Regions from separate parts of the Homo sapiens genome. Here region 2 is linked to region 1. Evidence: promoter capture Hi-C in human tissues and cell types (Jung and others, 2019). All regions are on one chromosome and are shown on one strand. Each heading gives the region's core, a stretch centred on a gene start or on the middle of the fragment in contact. The rest is flanking DNA. Distances are from core to core; before and after follow the strand shown. Region 1 holds the start of CST4 (cystatin S). Region 2 has its middle 29 kb from the start of GGTLC1.

Region 1 (5,551 bases), core at 305-2,804:
CTGGACAAAGTGGTAACACAAGTGTATGCATTTATGAAATCCCCCAGATTGGGCACATACTATTAGGCATTTTATTGTATGTAAATTCTACCTCATTTAAGGCAATTTTTAAAATGCCACGTGAGTCTTCCAAGGAGTGCACAGAGGAAAGGAGCCTGAAGCATGGCTGCCTAGGAGAGAAGCAAGAGAGGCCTGTGGGTTCCCACATTCATCCCGTGGCTGCTGCTCCCTCTCCTGACACCCCCACTGCCTCACAGGGGTCTCCGTGCACCTTCCACCGGTCCTCACCCACAGTTACCGTGAGACTCCAGGTGGTTTCCTCCCTTGCTCACATCCCCTCCAGGAGCTTCCTCTTCCTGGAGCAGGCATGTCCCAACCCCACCTCAGGGCCTTTGCACTGGCTGTTCCCCGCTGCCTGGGGCTGCTCAACCTCTCCAGTCTCATAGAGACCACCCTGACCAGGGTCCAGTGGTCTCTCTCTAGCCCCTGTTCTATTTCACTTCCAACAGAGTGAGTATAACTCCCTGATCCTAATTGTTGATCGTAACCTACCATCCTCTACACACACTGTGTAGGAATTTACTGTGCAGTTCCACAGCCACCAGCCACATGTGCCACAGGACACTTGAAATGGGGCCAGTCCAAAATGATTCCTGGGCTAAGTGTAAAAAATACACAGGGAATTTCAAAGATTTACAAAACCAAAAAAAAAAAACACACATAAACGATCTCATTAATAATTGTTCCCGTTAGCTGAAATAATATTGTGGCTATATTAGGTTAAATAAATATTTTAAACATTACTTTCACCCATTTATTCTCATCTTTTAAAATGCATCTACTAGAAATTTTCAAATGCTTGTGGGTTCATGTCACATCTCTGTGGGCAGCAGCTCTGCAATGTCACCTCTATGGCTCATCATCCAGGTTCCGTCTTCAAGCCCTAGACCTCCTGGCATGGGCAGTAACTGGTGATAGGTTTGTTTATTGAATAATGAGTTATGAAAACAGAAGCCAGTGACCTTTTCCAAAAAGGTTAATTCCCTTAAATTTGGCAAAGAAATTCTCCATATTAGGGTGTGGACAGGGTCTTCTGGAACCTTCTGAAATAACCTCTCTGTTCCAGAGATTCAGAGACCGTGACCAAGTGCTCCTGGAAGCCTCTGATATCTGAAGACCCCGGGAGGCCAAGCCCTGTATTTTTCCCCTTTCTGAGCAAACAGGAAGTCACATTGCTTTCACAGTCAAAGGACCAGTGTCACCTCTGTGGAGACCTGGGTGACTCAAGCTTGGGAGCACTGGGGAAGAGAGGCATGGCTCAGGGAGGCTGCAGTGAGGACTGGAGTGGGGAGGAGGGGGAGATGGAGGAGGAGGCCTGGGAGGGGCAGGGGGAACTTAGGCAGGGAGGGAGCTTGTAGTGGTGGGGGAGTGAAAAGAGAGATGGAGAAAGAGGGGATGGGCAGAAAGAGGAGGAGGAGTCAGGGGCAGGGCATGGAGGTGGGTGGGGCTGGGCTGCCAAAGCAGGATAAATGCACACCTGCCTGCTGGTCTGGGCTCCCTGCCTCGGGCTCTCACCCTCCTCTCCTGCAGCTCCAGCTTTGTGCTCTGCCTCTGAGGAGACCATGGCCCGGCCTCTGTGTACCCTGCTACTCCTGATGGCTACCCTGGCTGGGGCTCTGGCCTCGAGCTCCAAGGAGGAGAATAGGATAATCCCAGGTGGCATCTATGATGCAGACCTCAATGATGAGTGGGTACAGCGTGCCCTTCACTTCGCCATCAGCGAGTACAACAAGGCCACCGAAGATGAGTACTACAGACGCCCGCTGCAGGTGCTGCGAGCCAGGGAGCAGGTGGGTGCTGCCTCCACCCGAGGGGTCCTGAGCCCTAGCCTGGTTTGTTGCCGGACCCCCAAGAGCATTCCAAGCAAATCAACACTGACACATTCATGATCTAATGCTCAGATTCATTCAGCTTTCTCTGACTCTCCGCTGATGCCCTTCATGCCTAAGCATGCTCCCGGTCCATGCACTGCAGACAGTTAAAGGAAGTGCTGCAGCTTCCTTTAACCTGCAGCAGCTGCTGTGTCTGTACCATGACCGTGGCATTTCCCAGCGTCCAGCAGGTGTGGATGGAGACTGTGCTGACTCTGGGTGGGCTTGATGCTGCTCAGGATGAGATCCAGGCGGTGAGGCTCATTCTCCTCCCTGAGTCCTCTCCTCAGGGGCCACATGGGAACCTGGCTCCCTGTTCTGCAGAGCCCTTCTTCCTTCCCCAAGTCATGCCCTTGGGCACAGCCCCTTAGGGCTAGTGGCCTTCACCCTCAGGCAGGCTGACCCACCCCTGCAGGCCAGGATGGCTGAGTCCCTGCTGGGGTGGAGCACGCCTGGCCCTGCCTCTACGAGCTGATGCAGAGTTAGACCTCAGCCAGATGAGGACAGCAGTCACCCAGCAGAGCAGAGGAGGGGTTAGGTCCAGAGTGAGCTTCAGCAGGGCAACTGGGCCCAGCTTGACCTGCATCCCATGGCAGAGCAGCAAATAGTGACACAGCCTTTAGAGCTCCTCCACCTTCTAGAAATTCAAAGGAATCCAGACCAGTCCCGTTTCTCCTCCTACAGCTGTCAGCTGGAGCCCTCACCCTGCACAGGAGGTGCACTCCCTGGTGCCATGGTCCCCGCTGGCCTGCATCTCCCTCTTAAGCATGACAGTAACTTGGAGTGAAGCACAGGGCATTGCAGACCATCAGACCTGGAAGCCTATTTTATACATGGGTAAACTGATACTCGAGGGATCTCAGCAGTTCCTCCTGGTTCCAAAGAGTCCCTCATCCCAGGTTTCTCCACAGCTCTGCCACGTAGTGTCTGGGAGAGGCCCTGTGCAGGGAAAGGGTTCAATTATAATCTGCAATTGTAAGACACTCAGGTGTGCTGCTGACTTGAGAAACGTATCTTGAACCTCACACTTGAAATGGTGGCATCTGGGCGGCCCCATTGACCCAAAATATCTGTGTGTGTGAAGCATCTCATTTCCTACTCTAAGTGAAGTAATAAATCTAGGTTAAATGGAGGGAATAAGATTTTCGTGAGTTAGCTGAAATTTTGTCATCAGACAGCCTTCCTAGAAAAGAGTCAGTGTTCCCTCACCCCTGAGCCACAGGTAGCAGAATTCAATGAATCCTCTTACCCAGCACAGAGAAAACGATGTTTAAGAGCGGGCATGAGGCTCAGCACCCTGCCAGCTGACAGGAAGAGGGGGCTTGTGTGCCTTGTGTTGACATGTGGGCAGCTCACGAAGCCCCCAAGCAAGTCCAGTGACTCAGCCACAGTGAAGTGCCTGTGAGTGCATGAACTGATGGGGGCGCTGTCCGTGCTTCCTGTTTTCTCCTGTGTGCAGACCTTTGGGGGGGTGAATTACTTCTTCGACGTAGAGGTGGGCCGCACCATATGTACCAAGTCCCAGCCCAACTTGGACACCTGTGCCTTCCATGAACAGCCAGAACTGCAGAAGGTACGTTCCTGATGCGGGTCCCGGGCCAGTCATGCACTGCAGAGGGGTGCGTATGTGTCAGCCTCTGTCCTACCCATGTTTGGACGGTGTGTGTGTGCAGGTGGGTATGTGGGGAGCCGTGTATGCATGGATGTGTACGTGTTCATGTACTTATGGGGGGGTGTGCATGTAGGTGTGCATGTGGAAAGGTGCACGTGTGTACACACATGTGCCAGTGTGTGCGGGTAGGTGTATGGAAGCATGTGTGCCTGTGTGTGGGTGTGTGGCGGAAGTATGGGGGTTTGTACATAGATCCATGGGGATGAGGGGTCCAAGTGAGTTTACGTAGTTGCCTATGTGTGTGCAGATGGGGTGGTGAGGGAGGGGGTGATGTGTTTGATTTGCTAGGAAGGCTTTAGCTTGGGAATGGTTACTAGAAGGTCAACTGCCTGCTTTGGGGTGTTGCCTGTTGGACAGGAAGAATCACCTGCGGGGCTGGGTGCTGGGCAGGGAGAAGGGGATCTGTCTAATCCCAGCCTCAGGCACCTGCATGCAGCCAAAGCCACAATCAGATTAGTGGGACCTAGAGGCCTGTTAGCTGGGAAGCCCTGGACCTGCCCGGCTCACCCAACACCAGCCTCTCCAAGAACCTGCTGGTTCTTGTGAGGTCTCCACTCAGGGGAGAGCGGCACTCCCCTTGTTGCCCTTGACCCATGCCCCAGCTCTTTGAGGGGGAGTTGCCCTGCCCTGGGTTCTTCCCTCTGGCCCCTCTTAGTGCTGGCCTGGGTGCTGGAGGTGGAAGGAGCTGGGGGAACTGAGCCACCTCCCCATGTCCTGCACCCTTGGGGCTCCCGAGGCCTTGCCCAGGCTGCTCCTCACAGGGCTGTGATGGGACAGGACACTGCAGGCTGGGGTGGGGGCCCAATGCCACCTGGTGACTTGGAGCCTTGGGAGGGGTAATGGTACAGTCACTACTCATTCTAGTTCAGTGCTCTGGGACTCAGCAGGGGTGGGTGAGGGTGCAGTGTCTCACCTCCATCCTCCTCACCCAGGCTGTGACATCTCATGCCTGGGCATCTTCCCCTTTAACTGTAACCCACACTGATTGGCCCTCTCTCTTCCCTTTCACAGAAACAGTTGTGCTCTTTCGAGATCTACGAAGTTCCCTGGGAGGACAGAATGTCCCTGGTGAATTCCAGGTGTCAAGAAGCCTAGGGGTCTGTGCCAGGCCAGTCACACCGACCACCACCCACTCCCACCCACTGTAGTGCTCCCACCCCTGGACTGGTGGCCCCCACCCTGCGGGAGGCCTCCCCATGTGCCTGTGCCAAGAGACAGACAGAGAAGGCTGCAGGAGTCCTTTGTTGCTCAGCAGGGCGCTCTGCCCTCCCTCCTTCCTTCTTGCTTCTAATAGACCTGGTACATGGTACACACACCCCCACCTCCTGCAATTAAACAGTAGCATCGCCTCCCTCTGAGTTCTTGGCTGTCTGGGGATGTGCACACAGGCAGAGTTTCTGCAGTTCCTTTATGAAGCCTCCTTGTCCTGGTGGTGTGGAGATCACAGGAGTACCTGGGAGCTGATGCGGCCACAGCAAGGCCATCAGGGGAGCTGCTGCCACTTTTGGAGACCTCAGCTTCAGAACAGGGAGAGAGCAGCCAGGGGCTGGAAACCCAAGCCTTCAGCTGCAGCAGCCCCTGGCGAGGGGGTCAGGGAGAGGAGGGGGCCCAGGCAGCTGCCCCAGAAGCTGGGCTGGTGCTTTGGTCTGAGGTCCTGGTCAGACCAGGAGGAGGGGGCTGGTTGTGTCCACAGGCAGGGGCCAGGCCTCGGTGGAGCTCGCCAGGACGTAGATTCCATCTGTGCTTGCAGAGTGGAGCAGACTCCAGGGACTGAGCTGCTCTCATCAGATCCCCTAGACACTAAATAGACAGCGATTGACGTGTAGTTCTTTCCACAGGAGACTTTAGGACCCAACATGGAAACAAAGTCCAAAAGTGTGTGTGTGTGTGTGTGTGTGTGTGTGTGTGTGTGTAACTGATTGGGAAAAATGCCACCCAAACCAAAGAT
Region 2 (5,180 bases), core at 1,744-4,243, 330 kb before region 1:
TTTTCTTTTGTCACTTTTTCCACCAAACTTAGGAGCAACCAACCAGCTTCATTATGTTCCTTGGTTCTCCACATATAGTCAAAGGTATTATGTATAGAGTCACCAAACTCCTTGCCTCTTGTGAGTGGTGAATTAGGAGTGTCAGATGCATTTATTTTGCGTAACTCTCTAAACAGTTCACACCAAGGACTATCAGTGTTCTCCATACTATTAGAAGTAGAGTCCTTATCATTTTTGGATCTAATTATATTAAGCAGCCAACTCCAGAAACCCAAAACCAATGAAAAAACTCCATTCTTAATATTCTGTTTCTCTAGAACCACTCCTGGTACCAAAGTCTGTAATAGTTATGGTTCTCTAGAGGGACAGAACTATATATATAAAGGGGAGTTTATTAAGTATTAACTCACACAATCACAAGGTCCCACAATAGGCCATCTATAAGCTGAGGAGCAAGGAGAGCCAGTCTGAGTCCCAAAACTGAAGAATTTGGAGTCTGATGTTTGAGGGCAGGAAGCATCCAGCATGGAAGAAAGATGTAAGCTGGGAGGCTAGGCCAGTCTAGTTTTTTCACGTTTTCCGGCCTGCTTTATGTTCTAGCCTCGCTGGCAGCTGATTGGATGGTGCTCACCCAGATTAAGGGTGGGTCTGTCTTTCCCAGCCCACTGACTCAAATGTTCATCTCCTTGGGCAACACCCTCACAGACACACCCAGGATCAATATTTTGCATCCTTCAATCCAATTACATTAACAGACAGTATTAACAATCACACCCAGTTTTCTTTTACAGGTATTATGCACCTCAAGGAATTACTTGCACTTCTAACTCCTTCCCAGCATCTGCTTCCAGGAAGACACAGATGACTTGTGAAAAAGTGAGACAGGGAAGGAGGGGAAGCAGTTAATGAGCAGGTCTCTGCTGTGAGCACCTCATATGCAACCTGGGGGCTTGTTGGTGTGGAACTTGTCTCAGACTTGCCTGAAAAAGTGAGGAAGAGGGCAATTTTGTTTTCCACCCAGCACCCCATCCTCCTTGGCTGAAGGCTGCTCCTGGGGAATTGGGCTCTGGCACTTCCTGTGAGTGGGGAGAGCAAGCCCTGGGGAGTCACCGGCACACACCCTAGTACTCCACATGAGGGTTTGAGAGCAGTCAGTGTCCAGGGAATGTGGGTGTGGCTGTGAGAGCAGCTGCCACAAGGCTTTGTTCTCTGGCTACTGATTCCCCATTCCGAGTCACAGTGAAAGAACAGCCAGGCTAAAGGATGCAGGGTTGTTGGATCTGCACCACCTCCAGGGGATGGCCCCTGTTGCCACATAAACCCCCAGGAGCTCCTCTCATTCTGCACTCACCTGGTCTCTCCAGTCCTTTAGTAGGACCTCCTCACCCCTACTAAACTTGGTAGTTTATGGAGCACTTGCCCCTGTGCTTGCGCATGCTCAGCTTGTAAAGGATGTCACGAAGGGCTCAGTATTATCCACTTCCTTTATTGAAGACATCTTCATTCTTCTGTCTTGGAAAGAGCAGGCTTACAAGAGACAGCCGTGTTACACAGAGCACCTCATAATCGAACTAAGGGGCAACCCAGAATGAATCAGTAGTGCTCAACGGAAAAGCCCTGAGCTGTGATCTACAGTGGGGATGAACTGTGCAGCTACTCACAAGACCTTTCTTCCTGATGGCAGCTCAGCCGCTCTGCCAAAGGATGGGAAGATGGTCATTAGGACTGTGGACTGCACAGACAGTCTCAGAGAAGGGAAAAGAGAACACAAGCTCACACACCCAAAGTTCTGATATTTGTAGACTCAACCGTGGAATCCACTGAAGCAAATATAACATTTGGGGGAAACTTTAAGAAGTTCAGATTGGTTTGCCACTTTAATCCTTCCCCAACTGGCCACAGCTGTCACCAGCCAGGACCAAGAGAGAACCAGCCAGGGGAGAATATTAGAAATTTCACTCTCATGCCTATCTTTTGGAGCAGGCTGCTCACCTGTCTCATCTACCTGAGTCCTTGAGAACCATCACCTTTGCCTAGGTTCTTGCTCCCTGTAGAGCCCTAAGCTGTTGTCCAGCTCTCTGGGGACTTGTGCTGGGAATGAGCCTCCTCTGGGTCCCTCACACCAAGAAGTCACTGGCCACAGACCCTGATCCATTTGCCTCGACTCACGATTGCTGTGTCTTCTGGCTGAGTCTGTGGACTCTCCCCTTGCATTTACCATGAGTTACACGCCCTTATATCAACTCTGTTGCCCTGAGTTTTCTCTAAGTAGCCCTGGTATTCTTTTCTGTTCCTTCAGAAGAATTTTTTTTTTCATGTTCAGCATTTCTTTCCCTTGTTTTTTGATTTCACTTATAAGCCAGGGTCTAAAACACCTCAAAGGGGTAAAAAACATGTAAATCCTCCTTGATTTGTGTTCCCTCTAAAGCACACACTGAGCTAAGAGCTTGGGTATAGATGCTAAGTGGGAAGTTGTTTCCAGGAAATACAGGTAGAGAAATAAGACAGTATCCAAAATGTGGCATTTCCATACAATGGAACAGTGTTCAGCCTTAAAAAGGAAGGAAATTCTGACACATATCACAACACGGATGAACTCTGAGGACATTATGCTAAATGAAATAAGCCAGTGATTCATTACTTACAATGATTCCACTTATGTAAGTGGCTAGAGTCATCAAATTCGTCACGACAAAGTAGAATGGTGGCTGCCAGGGGCTGGGAGGGGGAGAGTGGGGAGTGTTTAATGGGTACAGAGTTTCAGTTTTGAAGATGAAAAGTGTTCTGGAGATGGGGCTGGTGATGATTGTGCAACAATGTAAATGTACTTAATATCACTGAACTGTGTACTTTAAAAGGGTTAAGATGGTAAATTTTATGTTATGTATATTTTAATACAATAATAAAGGCATTGTTTAAATCAGAAGACATATTGTTTAAAAAAAAACCAGATGCTGATGGCAAGGTAGGGCTGTTCCAGAGGAGTGAAGGGAGGAGACCCATCAGAGCAGCCGTGCCTCCTGCATTTAATAAAGGCATCAAAATAAAATAGATGAGCAGAAAATGAGACTCATACTCTTGCACTCTCTTTATCATAATTGGGCCACTTTAGCAACCACACTGGGGAAGGGAATGGGTTTGATTTTAGTGGTTATGTTAATTTCTGTAAAATAAATCAGATTCTTGAATCAGCAAGCTTTACCACCCTTTGCATGAGTTTAGAATATAAATGAAAGCTATTTCTCTTCCAAGATGATCTGGGTTAAAAAGCAATAACACACAGGAAATATGCGAGCCATTTCTGGAGCTGACATTCTGCGATCTCCTACTCGACAGTTATTAGAGGGACAGCAGATCTGCGTTCCCACCATCATTGTCGTACTGAGTGGCTGAGCGATGAGTGAGGCTGGTGTTAATGATTGACCGGGACTCTGTGGGAGAAGCAGTGAGGATGATGGCCAGGAGGTGCCAGGATTTTGGAGTGTTACAGAAAAGTGCTACAGGGTCTTAGGTAAATACCAAGTTCTTGCAGTCCTGCCTGTCTCAGCAACTAGCATTCTTGTGTATTTAGAGGAATTTGCAAAACATAAAACATATCAAGCATAGGAGGTTCTCCAGCTTCAAGTACACCTCACCTCCATAGCTCCAATCAGCTGGGAACATAGAACAATCATGGATAGTGTTTTCCTTCTAAGCTAACAGCAGAGATCGTCAAGGAAGGTGGTTCAGATAGGAAGGGCACAGAATCAAACACCAGAAGGTGGGGTCTGTCCCTCAAGTGAGACTAAATTGCTTGTTTCATATTCCCAGCAGTTACAAAGCAGTGACTTTAATAAGGCTGTGTTTAAGGAATTTTTGTTTGATTGGGCTGCAAGGCAATGGGAAACGAAGGTGACATGCATTGCGTGATTTATTTTTGGATTCTCTGCATGCATGGGTTTTATGAAGACAGGATGAGAGAATATTTTAGCTGGAAGGAAATACAGTTTATCTAGTTTAAACTGCTTACAGTCTGAAAGTATTTCAAACTAAAAGGAGCAGTGCATAGATCCCTGCACAATTTCAGAAAGCAATAATACTCCTAGCACAGAGCAGCCCCGCTGTGTTGTCTGGAGAAGGTGATAGGTGGACTGCAATGGACAACCCACCTCTCGGACCTACACCTCCCCTGTGCTGTTTTCTGACACAGGCTGTGAGGCCTGTCCTTGGGAACCAGGACTCAACACCATCTTAGTAAACTCACCCCGCTGCGGGTCCTGGTGAACACTGCACAAGGAGACAATGATGCTTAAGTAAGGGCACAGAATCCACTCTTGTATAGGGAGTGGGCATGAGGACAAGGGGGCCAGCTGCTGCTGTTGTCACTAGAGCAGAGTTAGGAACTGTTCGATGTAACTTATTTACTACATTAATCTCTGCAAAGACCCATGACATGCCAAGGATGTTTCCTCTTATACAGATGAGTTTATTAGAAGTTCCTATGAGTAGGTAGAGTGGCAAATGAGCCTTAAGGTTTATTAATAAAAGTTAGTTCTTTTAGAGATAAATAATGACCTGATATAGTTATTTTTTAAAAGAAGGAATTTAAGATATCTACCTTATAATACAAAGCCACAGACATCACTTCACATTTTTCTTTGAGGAACTTGCTGTAATAGGCAACCATATACAAAAATGAGAATGCGAAGGAAGGCATATCATTAAAACAACAAAAAAGAAAATATAAATCAATAGCTTTTCTTTTCATACATGATTCATGTGAACATGGAGTATTAAATGTAGTTTTGAAGTATTGGAAGGACACGAGAAGTAGAGAAAGGGAATCAGGACAGGTTAGGTTAGCACCAGGTATATGAAAGGAAGCAATGGGTTTGGTTTACAATAACAAGCGCTGCAAGAGAGCTGAGGAGGCTGGGAGCCATTGCAAGGGTGTCCCAGGCTGCATAGGGTGGGTCTGGGTCTGAGTCTGGGCTGGAAAAGGGAAAGGGAGACAAGGTCTCGTTTTGTGGGTTCTGAATCTGGCCAGAGAACTGCAGGGAGCAGTGCCACCGATGGGCAGGGCAGCGGGGATGCTGCCTTTCATGGTCAGAAATAGGGGAGGAGAAAATCCACAAGACACTGGAACAGAGAACCCAGGAGATGGCAGTGAGGGTGCATGCACATAGAGATGCTCCAGTCAA

The links. Contacts are between HindIII fragments. The study calls those that stand out against the background at their distance.
Region 2: a fragment that was not itself captured here is called in contact with the fragment with the promoter of CST4 in region 1 in 1 of the 25 tissues and cell types used here (spleen).

Annotation. Positions count from the first base shown.
Region 1 is chr20:23,685,041-23,690,591 of GRCh38, reverse strand. CST4 (cystatin S) reads left to right here and starts at 1,554. Exons shown (of 3, transcript NM_001899.3): 1 at 1,554-1,850; 2 at 3,391-3,504; 3 at 4,615-4,952. The coding sequence starts at 1,623. The coding sequence ends at 4,698. The HindIII fragment of the contact is 7,573 bases long and covers 1-5,551 here.
Region 2 is chr20:24,014,983-24,020,162 of GRCh38, reverse strand. No RefSeq gene overlaps it. Among named protein-coding and RNA genes, the nearest start is that of GGTLC1, 29 kb to the right of the region's middle. RefSeq lists an enhancer at 509-1,708. The HindIII fragment of the contact is 3,098 bases long and covers 1,445-4,542 here.